Linked DNA regions of Homo sapiens: regions 1, 2, 4, 5, 6 and 7 are each linked to region 3. The links are contacts of gene promoters, found by promoter capture Hi-C in blood cells and fetal thymus (Javierre and others, 2016). All regions are on one chromosome and are shown on one strand. The core of a region is centred on a gene start or on the middle of the fragment in contact, and the rest is flanking DNA. Distances in the headings are between cores, read along the strand shown.

Region 1 (2,765 bases), core at 174-2,673, 5.8 Mb before region 3:
TCAGGTGATTCATCCTAAGGATTTAATGAAAGCTACTTATCCCTAGGGGGAAAATGCACCTATGCAAAGTAATATACAAGGTGATATGTACAAACAAAGGTTATTTTGTTAAGGAGGTTATATTGAGCTGAATGCTTCTCCCAAATAGTCCTGCGTCCTGCTTTTTCTGTCTGGCAGCATGAGTAGATCTGTTTCTTCTTTGACTGGACAACCCTTCAAATATGTGAAATATGTAATCATGTCTCTTTACATGGGATAAATATCCTTCATTCTATTAAGTGTTCTTGGTGCATTTTTTCCCCCATACTTATTTCTGTCTTTATCATCCTCTTTTGGACACACCATTGTCTGTCAGTGTCCACTAAAGTCTTGTCCAAACTAAACACATCTTGGCTGGGCACAGTGGCTCACACTTGTAATCCCAGCACTTTGGGAAGCCAAAGCAGAAGAATTGCTTGAGGCCAGGAGTTTGAGACCAGCCTGGGCAACATAGTGAGACAACTATCTCTACAAAAAAAATTTAAAAATTATCAGGCATGGTGGCACATGCCTGTAGTCCCAGCTACTCAAGAGGCTGAGGTGGCAGAATTATTTGAGCCCGAGATTCAGGCTGCAATGAACTGTAATCACACCTCTGCACTCCAACTTGGGCGACAGAGCAAGACCCTGTCTCAAAAAATGTAATAATAAGGAAAAACAACATGTCCCACATATTGTGTAGCCACTTAGGCACTATGTTTGTCAGGGCTGCCATAACAGACTAGGTGGATTAAACAACAGAAATGTATTTATTTTCTCAGTCTTGAAGGCTGAAAGTCAAAGAACAAGGTGGCAGCAAGGTTGGTCTCTTTTTGTTTGTTTGTTTGTTTTTTGAGGCAGAGTTTCGCTCTTGTTGCCCAGGCTAGAGTGCAATGACGCAATCTCTGCTCACTGCAGCCTCCGCCTCCCAGGCTCGAGTGATTCTCCTGCCTCAGCCTCTGGGTAGCTGGGATTACAGGTGTGCACCACCACATCCGGCTAATTTTTTTTTTTTTTGTATTTTTAGTAGAGGTGGGGTTTTGCCATGTTGGCCAGGCTGGTCTTGAACTCCTGACTTCATGTGATCGCCTGCCTCGGCCTCCCAAAGTGCTGGGATTACAGGCGTGAACCACCGCACCCGGCCTAAGGTTGGTCTCTTCTGAGGCTTTTCTCCTTGGCTTGCATAGGGCCACCTTCTCCCTGTTTTCTCACGTGGTCTTTCCTCTGTGTGTGGGAGTCCCTGGTGTCTCTTTGTGAATCCAAATTTCCTCTTATAAGGACACTAGTAAGATTGGATTACGGCTCACCCTAATGGCCTCAATTTAAATTAATCACTTCTTTAAAGGCCCTGTCTCCAAATACAGTCACATTCTGAGGTACTGGAGTTTAAGGTTTTAACATACAAATTTGGGGGCAGAGATTCTCCCCATAACTGGCTCCGTATCTTTGGGTTGCGGTAATGGGAATATGGAAGGACTTAACTTCTTTTTTTTTACTGTTCAGTGTAAAAATTAATACACAGGAATAAATCAGTTTTTTTTTTTTTCTTTTAGCCAAAATCTGAAGATGAAGAAGGCTGGAAGAAATTTTGTCTGGGTGAAAAGTTATGTGCTGACGGGGCTGTTGGACCAGCCACAAATGAAAGTCCTGGAATAGATTATGTACAAGTAAGGGCTGTGTGGATAAACAGAACAAAAAGCATTTTAATTTTGGTGCACCACTTAATATAAGGGGTCAGCAAACTCTACCCTGGGCCAAGTCCAGTTCATGGCCTTTTTTATATCCATGAGCTAAGGATTGTTTTTAGGTTTTGAAAGAGTAAAAAAGAAACAAATAATATGTGGCTGAGACTTTATGTGGCCTGCAAAGCCTAAAATATTTGCTGTCTGACTCTTGATAGAAAATGTTTGCCAACCCAGACTTAGTTTATTAGCTCTTCAACCTAACAAAACAGCTTAGTTTCTGAAACAATTTACTGTGACTTTTTTTAGTTTGGCTTCATATCCCTTATGTTTGGCTTGGTAATCATTTTATGAGTTGGATAAGATTCATAGTTTTTTTAAATGATGAGGCATCAGGCAAACAGTGTTATGAGTAGCCAGGGAAAAAATGGAAATCGACACAATTAGATGCTTTAAAATGCATAATCACATCTATCACTTCATGGGCCTGTAAAAAATAAATCACATATTCTAAAGATGAAATGTTGAGGATATCTTTAAAATTCATGTGGCTGTAATCATAAGTTATGTAGACAACTCCTTGTCCTTCAGGATTTACCTGCCCCCAAGTTTGCAGGTGTTCCTTGAGAATCCAGTGCATGCCTCTGCATTAGCGCTTACTCCCTATAGCATGTAGTTCTTTTCAGTTCAACAGGTATTTATTATTTGCTATATGGTGCCACATTGTGTTTTTCACATTTAAAACTAATTTTTCCTAAAAATGTAAAAAGCCCCAAGAATCAATAAAAAGACCAAGAATCACCCCTCCCCTGCCCAAGAAAAAATAGCCAAAGGATATAGATACCTCACAGAAAGGAAATAAAATTATTCTTATATGACAAGATGCCAAAAATCACTTGTAATAGAAGTATAACATAACTATGCCAAGGTGCTATTTTTCAGGTAACATATTGGCCAAGAAAGTTTGATACACCATATTGACAAGAGCTGGGGAAACAAGCACTCTTAGACGTGGTACAGGAGTATAAATAGACTCAAATCTTAGGGAAGTTAATTTGGTACTCT
Region 2 (2,848 bases), core at 33-2,532, 5.7 Mb before region 3:
GCTGGGATTACAGGCGTGAGCCACCACTCTTGGTCTGTGTTCCAATTTTAGTATGTGCTGCTGAAGTGAGCACAGGAATTTTAATAACAGATTGTACTAACATTTTTAAGTGGTATTCATTTTTAGGTTGGAAGGTTTAATTTTTTAAATATAGTATTTTAGATTTTTTTGTTTCCGATCAGTGCTTTATCCTTGAACTAAAATTTTATGGAACTTAATGTTCAGAGAACCATGGAATTGCACTTGAAGAGACACAAGGAAGAAGAATGTAAAAGTAATGACAGTTTCCCAGGGGGAAAAGACATGCAGTAGTCTTTTTTTTTTTTTTTTTTTTTGAGATGGAGTCTCGTTCTGTCACCCAGGCTGGAGTGCAGTGGTGCGATCTCGGCTCACTGCAACCTCCGCCTCCCAGCTTCATGCAATTCTGCCTCAGCCTTCCAAGTAGCTGGGATTACAGGCGCACACCACCACACCTGGCTAATTTTTTTTTTTTTTTTTTTTTTTGTATTTTTAGTAGAGTTGGGGGTTTCACTGTGTTGGCCAGACTGGTCTCGAACTCCTGACATCGTGATCCGCCTGCCTTGGCCTCCCAAAGTGCTGGGATTACAGGCATGAGCCACGGCGCCCGGCTAACACGCAGTAGTCTTCCTACTGGAGATTACAAATTAGTGTTTATGGTTGAGTGCAGTGGCCTGTAATTCCCAACACTTTGGGAGGCTGAGGTGGAAAGATTGCTTGAGCCCAGGAGCCAGAGACCAACCTCGGCAACATGGCAAAAAACTGTCTACGAAGAGAAAAACTAGCCGATTGTGGTGGCATGAGCCTGAGTCCCAGCTACTCTGGAGGCTGAGACAGGAGGATTGCTTGAGCCCAGGAGGTTGAGGTGAAGTAGCTATGATCACACTACTGCACTCCAGCCTGGGTGACAGAGTGAGACCCTGTCTAAAAAATAACAAAAAAACCCAAATAGTGTTTATGGAAAACTTAGGAGCTGAAAGGGGATAGAGATGGTGAGTTAGGACTGAAATCAGTTTAGAGCTGTATTAGGAAAGACAGGCTGGGTGCTATGGCTCACACCTGTAATCCCAGCAATTTGGGAGGCTGAGGGTAGAGGATGGATGGCTTGAAGCCAGGAGTTCAAGACTGACCTGGGCATCAGCAAGAATCTATCTCTACAAAAAATAGAAAAATTTAGCCATGTGTGTACCTGTAGTTCTAGTTACTTCGGGGGCTGAGGTGGGAGGATTGCTTGAACCCAGGAGTTTGAGGTTATAGTGAGCTTTGATGGCACCACTGCACTCCATACTGGTGACAGACTGTCTAAAAAAAAAATTGGCAGAGATGTCTAAGGGGCTATTAAGGAAACATCTTTTAAGATACCAAGGTTTGGGTAACCACCAAAATAAAGATAGTTTGAACTTCAATGAGCTGTATTTCCAATCTAGGGTCCTTCTACACACTATCTGTAGAATGATAACAATTTACATGATTACTCAGGTAATTTGGGCAAAGCAAAAGCCACCATACCAATAATGTATTGACATAAATTCAAAAGGAAAGAGAGTAGTGATTACATGGGCCAATGCTATTAGAGTCAGTCAAGATGTGGGTTTAAAGTACATAAACAAGAATTTCTTTTATGGCTAATATTGTGTAAGAATTTTTTTATGACTAGTCAAACTTTAAAATATCTTCTGAAATCCAACGACAAATCCAACCCATTTTCCCTTTTTGAGGTTAAAATGAATGTTATTAAATCACATAGCCCAGAAAATGTAGCTATGTATTTGATTCAATACCACTACTCTAGTAAGCCAGTGGGGTAGAGACTACAACTTGGTAAAAATAAACGAGGTATCTGAGAATGTTTTTCTTACGCCTGTCTTTGTCTCAGCTAGCAGGACTTTTTTTTTTTTTTCTTTTTTTAAATAGAGATGAGAGTCTTGCCCTGTTGCCCAGGCTGGTCTCGAATTCCTGAGCTTAAGCGATCCTCCCATTTTGGCCATCCTAAGTGCTAAGATTACAGGTGTGAGCTACCATGTCCAGCCAATCTTTTCAAAAAAGGAACTTAAATAATTATACTAAAAAAAATGATGATACTCAAATGCCTGCAACTCCACTTTCCATGGCCAGTTGACTACCCTATTCAAATTTGTAATAGCTGCCACTCCTTGCCATGACTGTCCCAAAATCTTTGGTGTTGGCCGGGCACGGTGGCTCATGCCTGTAATCCCAGCACTTTGGGAGGCTGAGGCGGGCCCCTGATCATGAGGTCAGGAGATCAAGACCATCCTGGTTAACATGGTGAAAACCCCGTCTCTACTGAAAATATAAAAAATTTAGCCAGGCGTGGTGGTGGGCACCTGTAGTCCCAGCTACTCGGGAGGCTGAGGCAGGAGAATGGCATGAACCCGGGAGGCGGAGCTTGCAGTGAGCCGAGATGGCACCACTGCACTCCAGCCTGGGGGACAGAGCGAGACTCCATCAAAAAAAAAAAAAATCCTTGGTGTTAAGTGGCTTGGTCTCTCTTTCCCACTTTCTTTCCTCTCTTTCAGCACATCCAAATATGTTTGAAACAATGAGCCAAGTCACATCCTGAAATTTGTCCTCGTTTTCTTCCAAATAATGGAAACAACAGTTTCTGTGACATTTTTTGTAAATATTTTGTGTGCTGTGCAGCTAAAGGGTGACCAGAGTGCTCCTTGTACATAGTAGATCTGAAAAGGAGTATGGAGGAATCAAAATTATTTGGGGCTCTTTGTCAAATTACTCAGCCTTTTTGGAGATTTCAGATACAGCCCAACCCTTTAAGAATCTTTGTTGTCTTAGTGAACTAGTGTTACCTCTT
Region 3 (2,700 bases), core at 19-2,518:
CCATGTCTTGTGAGAGATTTATAATTAAACACATAATCCACATTTACAAACATTTTTAAAGGGCTTTTCTACCTGTAGGAGAGGATTAATATTGAGAGTGAACTTTTTGCAAGTTTTCCAACACACTAGTTTATCTCTAAGAGCCTCAGTTTCCTCATCTATAAAATACCATAAGAAATAAGAAAAAACAGGAAACTAAAAAGAGCAGGCTTTGCCAGAGCTATTAATTATTCTTTTTTGGGCAGAGCCAAAACTCAAGAAATGGAAGTCTCTCTTCCATTTCTAGACTTTTTTAGAGAGATCCATGAGGAAGTTCCCCTCCATAGCTTTGGCCGACCATCACACCGGTCAAGAAGGCATCCAGCCTCTCCCAGGCTCAGCCTGTGACGGAAAACCACACTGATTTACTAGGATAGCCTTGAGCTCTCTCATTAGCCCTCACGTGTTCTGAACGTTAGAGCTAACTTTCCAGACCCTCATTATTTGTTGAAAGGCTGGATGGGGAAAATCTCAACCAGATCTCCATGCCTACTTGCAAGGAGAGGTAGTTTTTGCAGGGTGGCCTGTGTTCTCCAGATGCAGAGCCATACAGGGCCTTGCTTCTTTACGGGAGATACAAAAACTCGGCCCTAATAAACAGAAATAGTGGTTGAGCCCACAAACTAGCATTAAGTTGTCCTAACTGTAATTTCCAGCTCCGTCACTTGCTGTGTGGGACCTTATTATCTCCAAAACCCAATTTTTTCAACTTCACAATGGAATTAAAACAATCTAATTTTTCAAAATGGGGTTAACTTCCACTGTAAGTTACAGTATATTGGCCAATAATTAACTTGAACACTAAAGCTGGCATTTAACAGATCAATTCAACTGTTTTCTAAGTAAATACTTAAACGCTTAAAAAACCGTAATTTACTGAGAAAACAAAGCTTTCTTTCTAGGTTAAGAATTTGAGAAAACAAGACCCAGAAGCAAACTAAAATCAAGTCCTAAAATGGTACAAACCTCAAAAAGCCAATCAGGTTTGCCAATAAAGCTCCGCCTCCGTGCAAACTCTGCCCACTTCCGGCTTCCCCACCCACCTTCTACCAGTGGAACCCCGCCCCTCTCTGCGAGGTCCCGCCCCCCACACCTGATCCTGGTTCCCATTGGGCGAATCTGGATGCTGTATACACAGCCGACACACGCACATTAGGCTGGGGCGTCTTCGCGCCTGCGCAGCTGCGCTGTCAGGCGGCTGAAAACGGGGGGGTTGGGGGGAGGGGGGCGGAGGTCGTGCCGAATCTTCCTCCGTAATAAGAAGCGACGTGTCCCACTGTCCTGGCTCCGTGGGTCCAGTGAGATTGGGCCTGGGCGCTGGAGCTGCTGTGGCTCCCGCCGCGGCGGCTGCCATGGAGGCCATGCCAGAGCCCAGAACTCACGCCGGGGGAGGCCGAGACAGCCGGCGGTACTCATAGATGAGGCAGCGGCGGCGGCGGCGGCGGCGGCAGCCCGGGCTCTCCATGAGCAGGCGGCGGCGGCGACGGGTGCGGCGGCACCGGCAGTTTTCGGTCCCCAGGGAGGTACGAGGAGTTTGCTTCCTGGTGGACGGAGACTGGCCGGTGTGGGAACGCCTTCCGCGGCCCGGCCCTCCAGCCTATTTGTCCGCAGTTCTGAGCACTCGGCGGGGCACTGCCCGGGCAGAGGCGGGGGCGCCCAGCCGACTCGCGGGCCCCTAACTCGGGGACCCGCCCGCCTCGGTGCCAGGCCTCCCGGGCGCGGCTGCCCAGGGCCAGGGTGGGCGTGGCCGGAACGTGGGGGCTCCCCGGGGGCGCACGCCTAGCGTCCGCCTTGTCCCTGTCCCGAAGTCCCGCGCTGCTGGGAGCGGTAGCGCGTGGCTGTACAGGCGTATTTTAGGCGCTGATTTGAGAGGGGACTTTTAGAATCCCTGAGTCCTTAGGGAGTCTGGCGTTCAATGCCTTGGGCATGTGGTGGGGTCCTCACGGCTAGCTTGGGGTACCAATTTCCTCCCTTGGAAGTCACCACGAAAGAAAGATGTTTTGTCAAAGAAATAGAGGTCAGGAGAGTTTTCCAGGTTTATTCAAATTGGAGGGCCCGTAGAGCCTGGAGAATAAAGCCAGCGGAATACATCCTCCAGTCCTTCTAATTACAGTTCCTAGCTAAACAGCTAAGACAATTTTAAGTAAAGCTCTTCACAGCTATCTTTCCATCATTTTTCCCCACCCCTCATTTTTATTGCAATTTACTTTGGAACAAATCACCAAATTCATGATGAAACTAGTATCCTCTAGTTCTTCCAAACCTTCCCTCCTCCCGTTTTTTCCAGAGAAAGACTAAAGTTTCATGCCACATATGTCATTATAGTTTAATTCTCTTAGAGTGTAAGGGTAGTTACACTTCATTTGGTCATGTCTGAAGATAATGTGAAGAAAATATCCTAGAGATTTATGCTTCCTTCCCAATGCACTATTTTAGGAATCCGAACTCAGGCTCTTTAAGCAATCTTAAACCTTGCTACAAAGTTCTTTAAAATTCAACGGAAATAAATCAAACCATAAAGTTATTTTCGTTTTTAAAGTATTTGAATGCATAACTGTTTTTTAAAATCTTTGTAAACAAAACGAATCAGTATCTATTACGAAGAAACTGAGTTTGTGTTTTCCTAGGCTGCAGATTTGCCACACCCTCTTCTTCCTAAGT
Region 4 (3,050 bases), core at 429-2,928, 5.9 Mb before region 3:
TCAAGCATGTTTTATTAAACTCTATAGACAAGGAAGTGAAAACAAAGAGAAGTCAAGTAACTTGCAGAGTCTGCATTTTCCATTACCAGCCTTCCACCCTTCCAAGATTACTTTTTATAACCTCCCCAACTTTTAGAACTTTTGGACCTGGGATTCAATTTATTTACCTATATTACAAAAACTCTTAACTCCTAGCCACCTCCACAGATTTCCAATATTCTAATCTCTGCTCTCTCCTGTCCAGATCTATTGTATTCAATATATGCTATGTTTAAGGTCCTATGGAAAATCAAAAATGAAAATGACAGTTATTGCCTCAAGTAATTAATAATCTAACAGGAGCAATGCCATAAAAAATGGAGGCGGGAAAAGGGATGACAGGACAGGGATATTACACAAATTCAATCATGCAATTGTAGGACGGTGCTATGGTTTGAATATCTGTCCCTTCCAAAACTCATTTTGAAAATCCCCAATGTGGCAGTATAAAGGTGGGGCCTTTAAGAGGTGACTGGGTCATAAGGGTTCCGCCCTCATGAAACAATTAAAATCTATTCATGGATACTCCCAGGCACAGTGGCTCACACCTGTAATCCCAGCACTTTGGGAGGCAGAGGTGGGCAGATCACGAGATCAGAAGATCGAGACCATCCTGGCCAACATGGTGAAACTCCATCTCTACTAAAAATACCAAAAAAATTAGCTGAGTATGGTGGTGTGTGCCTGTAGTCCCAGCTACTCAGGAGGCTGAGGCAGGAGAATCGCTTGAACCCAGGAGGCAGAGGTTGCAGCGAGTCGAGATCGCGTCACTACACTCCAGCCTGGCAACAGAGCAAGACTCCGTCTCAAAAAAAAAAAAAAAAAAAAAAAAAGAACATTATGGAAGCATGCTCTAGATATTTTTAGTAAATAAAATAGGCCCTCACCACTGCTGCAAAAGCGTTTTATTAATCTTCAGTTGATTTTTGTATTCTTTAGAACTGTTTTTAATCTTTTCTAGTTTTTTTGGCCCCTAACTCCAGCCTTTTTCACTCCTAAATAATCTCATATTATTGAAAAGAAACAGGCAATTATCCAATGTGAGTTTTCACTCCACCTAAAAACCTTTCTGTCTTCACCCTTCTTACCTTTTGCTTTTGCAGAAATAAGTGCCCTGCCTCCTTACCAATGCTTAACGTCCATATACTGCTTATGATCATATTGTCTCCTGAGGATCTTAAATATCTGTTCTTTTGTGTCTTTCCTATGCTTGGTCTCCAAATAAGTTCTGTGCCCTTACCGTAATAACAATCATCTGCCTATCCTACTGCTTATCCTCAGGTTAAATTTGCAAAAGAATCATTTATACTTTCGACCTCCGCTTCTTTCTCACCCACTAATTCCTTATAAATTTATCTTCTTACTCAACCACCATACTAAAGCCGCTTACACAATGCCACGAATAACCTCCTAGCCATCAAATCCAAGCACCTTTTCTCACTCTGTATCCCTCTTCAACTGTCTGCGGCATGTCAGTTTGTTACCTCCTTCTTCTTCCTTCTATAAAGTCACCTTTTATGACATACTATTCTTTTCATTCTGCCTCTCTGATAATTCACTAAACACTCCTACCACTTGTACTCCCCTGAAGTTTTTGTCTCATCTCTCCTTTACCTCTTTACTCTCTCTTCAGACAAGCATTTACTGTGATGACTTTATCACCTTTCTCATTCTTGCCCTGACCATCAAACCCAAATTGCCAACAGCCCACTCAACATGGCCATAATCAATATGGTCATCTTATTGTGGCTCAATAAGGCCTTCTAGATAGTACCTCAAACTCAGTGTCTAAACCAAACAATTTCTCTCCACTCTCCCATTTATTGACATATGTTTTCCTAGTCACTCAGGCTTAAAACCCCAAAATACCCTGTTTCCCCTCACCTGTTTTTTAAAAATTCAAGACTACATTAAAGTTGAGAGAGAAGTACAATAAACACCCATATAGCATACCTACATTCACTGACTGTTAACATTTTGCCACGTATGCTTTATGTTTCTACATTATTTTTCCTTTTTTCTTCTTTTTGTTGAATAACTTCTGGAAGTTGAAGCCATCATGACATTTTATTCCTAAATACTTCAGGATGTATCTCCTAAGATCAAGAAGAATCTCCTACATAACCACACCATTATCACTCTCAAGAAATTTAATAATTCTGTACTAGTTATCTGATATATGATCTATATTCAAATCTCACAAATTATCCCAATTATGTTCTTTATAGCTATTCTCTCCCTTTAATCCAGGATTCAATCAGAATTCAGATTTTGTGCATAGTTGCCATGCCCTGGAATAATTACTTTCCTGCAACTTCTAATCAAGTCCTATTGAGTCTACTTTTAAAATATCTCCCAAATCTATTCCTTTCACCATCTTGCCTTTACTCCCTCTCACTTGGATTATTTTCGTAAATATACTTTCAACCTACAGACTGCTTCCATTTAATCTTAAGATTCAACTATACTAAGACTCAAATCTGCCCTCTGTCCACCTTCAATGACTCTCCATTACTTACCAAATAAATACTCAACTTCTCACTCCTCAACCTGACATTCAAGATCCTCCACAATTTACTTGTACAACACATTTCCGTTTTATGTTCTTCTAGTCAGCTCTGCATGTAGTCTTTTATCTTAGCCCATACTATTCTCTACCTAGATTTCCCTTCCTCATGCAATTTCCAATTACTGAAATAACCATTCTTTAAATGAAATGTTTCTTTTTTCTGAGCTCTTTTCTGATTACACACCCTCTTCCTGCTACCACTATGTGACCTCTTGCCATCTTCCTCTTCTAACCTTTGTAATACTTCATAGCTTTCTAAGGACAAATATCCCATTCTGCCTTGTAATTTACTTAGGTATGTATTTTATCTCTAATATTAGACTACAAGCTCTCCAAAGGCATGGGTAATAACTGCACCCTAAAGAGCCAATACAAAGTCCTAAACATACTGGACACTCAATAAATGTTGATATGTTATACCAAGAGGTTAACACTTTTTTTT
Region 5 (2,700 bases), core at 139-2,638, 5.7 Mb before region 3:
TCTGTCATCCAGGCTGCAGTACAGTGGGGCCATCTCGGCTCACTGCAACCTCCATCTACAGGGTTCAAGTGATTCTCCTGCCTCAGGTTCCTAAGTAGCTGGAATTATAAGCACCCACCACCATGCCTGGTTAATTTTTGTATTTTTAGTAGAGAAAATACAAAAATACAAAATGTTGGCCATGCTGGTCTCAAACTCCTGACCTCAAGCAATCCACCTGCCTTGGCCTCCCAAAGTGCAGGGATTACAGGCGTGAGCCACCGCGCCCAGACAGAAAGATACATTTTAAAACCACTTGGAAGGCCATCTCTATAGAAGTGATTTTCCCAGGATAGTAACCAGATGTAACCTAACCCAACACCATCTTAACTGTCAGAGGTTCAATGGGTTAAAGCTTTGTGCTCCTCCCTGACACCAAGTCTTTTAATAGAAACAAACCCCTCAAGACACGGTGGCTCATGCCTGTAATCCCAGCACTTTAGGAGGCCAAAGCAGGAGGATCACTTGAGCTCAATGGCTCAAGACCAGCCTGGGCAACATAGCAAGACCACATCTGTACTAAAAGTAAAAATAAAATAGCTGGGCATGGTAGCATGTGCCATTTTGGAGGCTGATGCAGGTGGATTGCTTGAGTCCAGGAAGTTGAGGCTGCACTGAGCCATGATCATGTCATTGCACTCCAGCCTGGGCAACAGGTTGAGCAAGGGACCCCATGAAAGAAAGAAAAGAGAAGAGAAGAGAAAGAAAAGAAAAGAAGAGGGGAGGGGAGGGGAGGGAAGGGAAGGGAAGGGAGAAAGAGAGAGAGAAAGAGACAGAAACAGAGAGAAAAGAGAAAGAAAATAATTTCACTATTGTTTTCTCTTAGAAGAGGAGAAAAATCCAACCTACTTAGGAGACCAACCACAACACAATGAAAAGTTGCACTAACTACTTCAGAATATTAGTAACAGCCGATGTTGGTAGGAATAACTGGTATTTATTCTAGAGTTCTTATAAATAAAATCCCACAGTTAGCATCTGCATTATCATCTAGAGGGTTAGTTAACACGTAGTAGAATGAGGACTTATGCAAGGTGTAATACACATAACATTTTACTACTATGAAAACAAATGCAGTCCAGTTAGGAGAAAACCAAGTGGATTCTAAGTTATACACACCTTAATGACAAGACTCCCCACCATTTGCGAATGTAAAAGAATTAATTTTTGAATGTTGACACTACAATATTTAAAATAGCTATTATAAATGCACATAATGTACTCCATGCTAGGTTTTTATTTCTTTGTTTGTTTAAGGAAACTGCAAGTTATACTGTGGTTAAGGCTTGTATCTTCACCCTTGAAAAGGCCCACATTCTATCACAGTAATGTATGGTCAGACTTAGCTCCAAATGTTAAACACTTGGATCAAGTAATAACCAGTTATATTGCAAAAGGAACCTATACACATTTATTTATCAACTCTAGTTCCTTAATAGCTACCTAACAAGTCATTAACTTACAGAAACATGCGTCATGAGAATGAAAAAATGTCACCCATCCCTTCTGCGTATTAGCAACTTGTCACTCCTGAGCAACAGTGCTTACGTCACTGAGGTCTATGAACAGTCACTTTTCACATTCATCCCAAAAGACGGAATGACTTAAGCACAAATGCAACATATTATAAATAATTTCTCCCCAAAAAGTCACAAATTAAACCAAAGTATTTTACAGAATTCATATAAAATGCCTTAAAATCTGCCTTCACTTAAGCTCGCTCACTCCGTGTCTGGCGAGCCAACTGGATGTCTTTGGGCATGAGAGCCAACTCTCTTACCGTAGATGGCACACAAATTAGCATCTTCAAACCAACCCACCAGGTACACTTCACTAGCCTCCAGGTACACTTCACTAGCCTCCTGCAGCACCCCAATGACTGTGCTCTGAAACCTAAAGTTGGTTTTGAAATCCTGGGTGATCTCTCTCACCAACCTCTAGAAAGGCAGCTTCCAGATGAGAAGCTAGGTCAATTTCTGGTAACGAGAATCTCTAGAAGTGCCACAGTCCCAGGCCCGTAGCGATGAGGTTTCTTCACCAGACCGGTAGAGGGGACACTTTTTTTCTGGCAGCGTTAATAACCTGCTGTTAGGAGGAGGGGCTCCCACCAGTGGATTTACAAGCACTTGTCTTGGCTTGGGCCATCTGCTTCTACCTAACATCAAAGTTTTAGGTCACTTCTTCAATCGCCACATTGCTTCTGCTGCCCAAGGAAAAACCGCAGTGTCCAAGCTAAGAATAGACGTTCCTCCAACAAAAGACCAAACTGCTATTTACTTATTTATTTGACAAGTCTTGCTCTGTCGCCCAGGCTGCAGTGCACTGGCGAGATCATGGTTCATTGAAGCTTTAAATTCCTGGGTTCAAGCAATCCTCCCACCTCAGTCTCCCAAGTAGCTAGGACTACAGGCACATCACCATGCCTGGCTATTTTTTTTTTTTTTAAGAGATGGGATCTCACTCTGTTACCCAGGCTGGTCTCAAAGTCCTGACCTCAAGATATCCTCCTGGCTTGGCCTCCCAAAGCTGTGGGACTACAGGTGTGAGCCACTGCACCTGGCACAAGGCAACAGGATAAACAGGGAACTACTGCTTATAATTGATTTTCAGAAATCAAATCCTCTTCCTAATTACTCCTCGTCTCCCTTTTATCCCAATTTC
Region 6 (2,749 bases), core at 176-2,675, 5.8 Mb before region 3:
TCTGGGTATTTGAGATAATAGCAGTCATGTAAAGCTGAAAAAATGAAGAAAAGAGCAAATAAAACTATATACAGATACTTTCATAAAACTATGACACAAAGAACATCCAAACTTCAAATTTCCTACAACTGGAGGGAAAAAAAAGCCACTAAATCCCCGTGAACTGTATCTCTCATGCTCTCATTGCAATTCTCCAAAAAGATCAAGGGCAGTTTGGGAAGAAGTACACAGAAGAGAGAAGAGGGAAACAAACAGCAGGCCTAGAAGAACGACTACAGATTCAAATGAAAACTTGGTAAGAGGCACTAAAGAAAAGAAAAAAACCAAGAGAATGAAAATGAAATAAAGAAATAAAAAGATGGCTGAAATAAAAAGCAAGCAAAGAAGAGTCAATTTATATATAACGGCAGTTGTTTTTTTCTTTTGAGACAGAGTCTTGCTCTGTCGGCCAGGCTGGAGTGCAGTGACATGATCTCGGCTCACTGCAACCTCTGTCCACGGGTTCAAGCAATTCTCCTGCCTCAGCCTCCCAAGTAGCTGGGATTACAGGCGTGTGCCACCGCCCCCGGCTAATTTTTGTATTTTTAGTAGAGATGAGATTTCACCACGTTGGCCAGGCTGGTCTCGAACTCCTGACTTCAGGTAATCCGCCTGCCTCGGCCTCCCAAAGTGCTGGGATTACAGGCATGAGCCACTGCGCCTGGCCGGGAGTTCTTAAATAAAATAAAACAATGGAACAAAACTACTATTTAAAGCTATAAGACAACTTTATAGGAAAAAATACTATAAGACAACTTTATAGGAAAAAATACATATAAAGAGGGCCTACCACATACTAGAGAAAATTAACCTGCAACAAAAACCCTACAAGATAAAAAAAAAATTCCTCAAGACCTTGAAGCAAAATGATCAAATAATTTACAAGGGCAAGAAAATAAGGCTGGTATCAGCCTTCTCAAAAAACATCAGCCAAGGTGGTAGGATCACTTGAGACCAGGAGTTTGAGACCTGTCTGGGCAACATGGCAAGACTCTGTCTCTACAAATTTAAAAAGTAGCTGGGCATAGTGGCATGGGCCTATAGTCCCAGCTACTTGGGAGGAGTCTGAGGCTGGAGGACTGCTTGAGACCAGGAGTTTGAGGTTGCAGTGCTGCAGTAAGCTATGATCACGTACTGCACTCCAGCCTGAGCAACAGAGGCTCTGTTTAAAAAAAAAAAAAAACACACACACATCAAGGTAAGAAAATAATGAAAAAGCATTTTCCAAAACCTCCAGGAAAAAAAAATTAGAACCAAAGCTTTTTATATCCAACCAAGCTATTCTTCAACTATCAGAACCACAGGAAAAAAGTTTAAACATTCAACAGCCCAAGAAATTCTGTACTCTTAAGTCTTCTTAAGAAATTTACTAGAAGATACAAATAAAACTTACAGCAAAGAATAACATAATCACACTAAGGGCAGTGGAGGGGAATAACCCACTTAACTTTTGAACATTATATTTTGTACTATATATTCTCAGAACATTAAACAAATACTGGGCTCTAACTCCTAAGCTTCTTTCTAACAGAGGTATGAGCTAGAAACTCTGAAACTATTCTATATATTCTAGGACTGAGCAAATAAGTAAATATATTTGATAACGGGAGCAGGTTTCTCATAGAGAATGAGTTACAAATATGGAAAAGTGGGAAGGATAGAATAAACCCTGTGGTACTGAATTGAACATACCTGAAAGAAACATTGGTTTTTAATATAAAATTTTTTTTATTTTAATAGAGATATAGATGCATATTGGAGTATGCAGACATATATGCACACACATATACTTATGATTTTATATACATCTATAGATACATATATATGCACATACATCTTCTTCTTAGCTCCATCCGCTGGGACCTAGAATTAATGACACCCAGGGTAAGGGTGCACATGAAGCATTATCTTCTTGGTAGAACCAAGGCTAAAAGGAAACAGGGCTCCTAAGTGGTTTCATTTCAGGTCCAGAGCAGGAAAAGGATAAGATGAGCCCTGAACAACTTACTATACCAGAAAGGAAGTATTTAAGCAAACATGCGGCATTTAATAAGGACCCAGAAGCAGCTTGAAGAGGCTCCCACTAGCCAAATCGGGGAAAACTTAAGCATCAAAGTAAATTATGATAGTAAAGGAATGTATCTTGTTGTATAAAATAAGAATGTAAGAATACACCCAGTGTGTATTCTGTATGTATTTACATATATATATGTGTATATAAATTTATATATATATAAATACGTAAATGGGAGAGGAGAGAAAGCTCTTCCTCAAGTAGAAAGCCAATTAATAAAAGTAGAAATGATGGAATTAGAAAGCCACTATTTGGCATGCATCATAATAATAATTGATCAGAAAAGAATCATCAATGGATGCTAAACTAGTGGGTAAAAGTTTGCTGAGTACACTGGTTATTCACATATTTTCAAGGTATCTCCTAATAAGATATTTATAATTACAATAGGAAAACCTGTAACTTTACAGTGACAAAAACAACCTTAACCAAGTAAGGAAAGTTAACATCAGCAGTAATGAAATAAATCAACATGGGGGTTCCTAATATTTTGCAATGTTTATTAATTACAAAGGGGTAAAAAAAGAGTAATTTTAAAGTGGAGAGCCCTGGCAGATACTACCTTAATGAATGACCAAAGTGAATATCATCAGTAACAGAACAAATGAAAACCATGTGCCACCTGTAAAATGTAAC
Region 7 (2,937 bases), core at 24-2,523, 5.8 Mb before region 3:
CCTAACCTTTTAAAATTTTCATTTTAAAAATATTTCAAACATAAAGACAGTAAGAGTGGAATAAACTCCTATATAACCATCACCTAGATTCATCAGTTGTTAGCATTTTAACACATCTGCATTATCATTCTCTCTCTCCATTTATATACACATTTTTTGCTGAACTTTTCTAGATTAAGTTGGAGATATTATGACCTTCTGCCTGAAATACTTCAGTGTATATCTCCTAAGAACAAAAAATTTTCTTATATAGCTCCAATTATTAAACTCATGAAATCTAACACTGATATAATGCCATTATCATATAGAAAGAGACTATATTCATATTTCCCCAATTGTCTAATAATGGCTTCTAAAGCAAAATTTTTCCCTGACATTTGCATTTTGTCCATGATCACACATTGGCATTAGTGGTAATGTTTCTTTAGTATCCTTTAATCTGGATCAGTTGCTCAGACTTTCTTTGTCTTCCAAGACATTTTTGAATAGTACAAACCAGTGACTTTGTAAGTTGTAAAAAGTCCTTCATTTGGTATGTCGTTGTTTCCTTAAGCAAATGTTCTGAATGTCAAATTTAATGTGTGCACACACATGTGTGTGTGTGTGCACACACGTTGAGAGCCATAAATAAACTGAGAAGTTTGCCAAGCATCAGTACTTCCAAGTTCCTTATCTGAAATCTGAATAAATCTAAGGGAAGGTTCAGCTGACATTTTTTCTTCAAATGAATAATGTATCCCCTTGACATTGTTCCAGGATGTTAAGTCAAAGCAAGGTAACAGAACAGAACACTAAATCTATGTACAACCCTGTGCTAAGTAATAGATCACCCAATACAGCTAATACTCAGTTCAAATGTTGTGTTCATGTCCATCACTCAACAAAAGTCTTAAGATTTTCAGGAATGAAGCTAGAGTTTAAGTACACTTAATGAAAATGAGAGCTACAAATGCCTTCCTTGTCCATTGTCGAGACCATGACTAAACTGGGTAAGTTTACTGATCAACACTTTTCCTATCCAGACAACCAAGTTCAAGACAAACAGAAATAAAGACCAAAGCCTGTTCATTTCTAGATTCACCTCATCTAAAAAACCTCTTCCTAACTAAACTCATTCCACAATTATTTTCCTTTTGTTTTATACTTCACAAATACACAGAGATACCAAAGTAGCAGAGAAATAATTTATTCGTAATTCTTAATAAAAAGAAAGGTACTAAATTCAGTTAAATTTGTTGTCTCTGCAAATGCTGGGCAAAGAGCCCATGAACAAATACATGCCTTATTTGGAAAATCTATCACAAAGATAGGAATAAGAAAAGGTATCTGTTGGGCCTTATTATTCCCTTCTGGGGACCCTGCCTATATCAATAAATTAGAACATGACTATGTTACACAAAATACTACCCTATAATTGAATCTGTTAGATAGAGACTTTACCTTTTGTGGTCTCAACAAGTGCTAGTCAAAGTGTGGTATGTGAACCAGTGCCATGAAGTCAAAAGAGGAACTGAGAATAAATATTTAGAAACTGAGCAACTTCACAAAATAATCTTATATCTTATTAATCTAATAATATAAAACAGGGAGTTTGTTTTAAATCACTTTTTAAAATTTCATTTTTCTAGTAATTCATTTTTATTGTATTTAATAAAAGCATCTGTACCCGAAGGATTAGGAAAAAAAACACAACTGGCCCTTTACCACAGACAATGTGAGGATGACTCTATACCACACTGTCATACAGCAGGAGGCTAAGTACGTTCACGGCTTCCGCATTCATACTCTCCTAAAACAGAACCTACTCCACAAAGCAGAAGCTGAGTAATGGCATAATAAATGAATTAAATGACTAATAAAACTTGAAAAAAAAATAGCTAAGAATTTTTATCACTAATTGAAAAGTAATGTGATTAATTACTGTGCTATATCATTTATATATATAATGGATTATATATATTATTATTGACTATTATAGGTAAATATCTGATTTTTCTCCTCTCACAGGAATGAGGTAAATAAAATAATATTTTGAAGGGTGTGTCTTAGAAGTACTTTTTAAAATTGCTCTTACGGTTCTTAGTAATGCATATTGTAGCAAATAAGCTGGGTTAGAAAGAAATAAATAAAATACTATTAGTCACAAATATTCACTTGCTAGTCATGGATGTCACCCAAAATAGGAATCCAGTTTGGAAACACAACCCAGATACCTGTGATATGAAAATCAAATCTCTAACAAATACAACTTACTTCCTAGCAATGGTGGTCACTCGGATGCGTCTCTGCCCACTTGAATGCTGATACTGAGTCACAAACTGGATTGCACCACGCCCTCCTTGAGGAATTGGAGCATTATGCTGTATAAATATAATGGAGTAAAACCTAAGCAAAATTTACTATGCTGTTGTCATATAATCACAGGCTACATGTCCTAGCACTAAAAATAATTCATTCTAAAATTGATTAGAAGGATACTTATTTCCAGTGCATTCAAAACAGTTATAATTTGTTACACAGAAGAGGAGAAATTAATTTGGAGAGGAGGAAAATAATCAAGAATGATAGAAGTCAGTCCTGCTAGGAAATCAATTTTCAAGTAATATATAAGCCAGAGGGACATGAAAGAACAAAGAAAAGGGAGAGCACAAAGAAATTAAAAGACAATTCCTAAGTGAAGCCATTTAAGCCAAACTGCACAGATTGAATATCCCTTATCCAAAATGCTTGGGACCCGAAATGTTTTGGATTTTGTATTTTTTTAAACTCAGGAATATTTGCCTTATACCAATTGAAGATCCCCAAATCCAAAAATCCAAAATCCAAAATGCTCTCCAATGAGCATTTTCTTTGAGTGTCATGTCAGCATTCAGAAAGTTCCAGATTTTGAAACATTTCAGATTTCAGATCTGAGATGTTCAACTTGTAACTAGATAA

Evidence for each region. The method cuts DNA at HindIII sites, captures the fragments that hold promoters and counts their contacts. A CHiCAGO score of 5 or more calls a contact.
Region 1: a fragment that was not itself captured here is called in contact with the fragment with the promoter of DORIP1 in region 3 in 13 of 17 cell types (total CD4 T cells, naive B cells, naive CD4 T cells and 10 more); the score reaches 38.6 in total CD4 T cells.
Region 2: a fragment that was not itself captured here is called in contact with the fragment with the promoter of DORIP1 in region 3 in 12 of 17 cell types (total CD4 T cells, non-activated CD4 T cells, naive CD8 T cells and 9 more); the score reaches 19.9 in total CD4 T cells.
Region 4: a contact is called between a fragment that was not itself captured here and the fragment with the promoter of DORIP1 in region 3, in 3 of 17 cell types (total CD4 T cells, activated CD4 T cells and naive CD4 T cells). The highest score is 9.1, in total CD4 T cells.
Region 5: a contact is called between a fragment that was not itself captured here and the fragment with the promoter of DORIP1 in region 3, in 12 of 17 cell types (non-activated CD4 T cells, total CD8 T cells, activated CD4 T cells and 9 more). The highest score is 27.6, in non-activated CD4 T cells.
Region 6: a contact is called between a fragment that was not itself captured here and the fragment with the promoter of DORIP1 in region 3, in 9 of 17 cell types (total CD4 T cells, naive CD8 T cells, total CD8 T cells and 6 more). The highest score is 20.9, in total CD4 T cells.
Region 7: a contact is called between a fragment that was not itself captured here and the fragment with the promoter of DORIP1 in region 3, in 5 of 17 cell types (total CD4 T cells, naive CD8 T cells, activated CD4 T cells and 2 more). The highest score is 17.9, in total CD4 T cells.

Annotation. Positions count from the first base shown.
Region 1 is chr14:39,120,859-39,123,623 of GRCh38, forward strand. It overlaps GEMIN2 (gem nuclear organelle associated protein 2), which reads left to right. Exons shown (of 10, transcript NM_003616.3): 5 at 1,572-1,685. Among named protein-coding and RNA genes, the nearest start is that of GEMIN2, 7.9 kb to the left of the region's middle. The HindIII fragment of the contact is 5,325 bases long and covers 1-2,765 here.
Region 2 is chr14:39,183,952-39,186,799 of GRCh38, forward strand. No RefSeq gene overlaps it. Among named protein-coding and RNA genes, the nearest start is that of PNN-AS1, 9.5 kb to the left of the region's middle. The HindIII fragment of the contact is 9,645 bases long and covers 1-2,848 here.
Region 3 is chr14:44,896,007-44,898,706 of GRCh38, forward strand. DORIP1 (dopamine receptor interacting protein 1) reads left to right here and starts at 1,269. Exons shown (of 5, transcript NM_001017923.2): 1 at 1,269-1,562. RefSeq lists enhancers at 914-963, 1,588-2,087 and silencers at 1,454-1,583, 1,604-1,923. The HindIII fragment of the contact is 3,873 bases long and covers 928-2,700 here.
Region 4 is chr14:39,035,474-39,038,523 of GRCh38, forward strand. The region is part of intron 19 of SEC23A (SEC23 homolog A, COPII component); the gene reads right to left. Among named protein-coding and RNA genes, the nearest start is that of SEC23A-AS1, 66 kb to the right of the region's middle. The HindIII fragment of the contact is 4,681 bases long and covers 1-3,050 here.
Region 5 is chr14:39,159,856-39,162,555 of GRCh38, forward strand. All of the region lies in intron 1 of TRAPPC6B (trafficking protein particle complex subunit 6B), which reads right to left. Among named protein-coding and RNA genes, the nearest start is that of TRAPPC6B, 9.1 kb to the right of the region's middle. The HindIII fragment of the contact is 1,992 bases long and covers 393-2,384 here.
Region 6 is chr14:39,080,000-39,082,748 of GRCh38, forward strand. The region is part of intron 7 of SEC23A (SEC23 homolog A, COPII component); the gene reads right to left. Among named protein-coding and RNA genes, the nearest start is that of SEC23A-AS1, 22 kb to the right of the region's middle. The HindIII fragment of the contact is 258 bases long and covers 1,297-1,554 here.
Region 7 is chr14:39,059,512-39,062,448 of GRCh38, forward strand. It overlaps SEC23A (SEC23 homolog A, COPII component), which reads right to left. Exons shown (of 20, transcript NM_006364.4): 13 at 2,254-2,360. Among named protein-coding and RNA genes, the nearest start is that of SEC23A-AS1, 42 kb to the right of the region's middle. The HindIII fragment of the contact is 9,282 bases long and covers 1-2,937 here.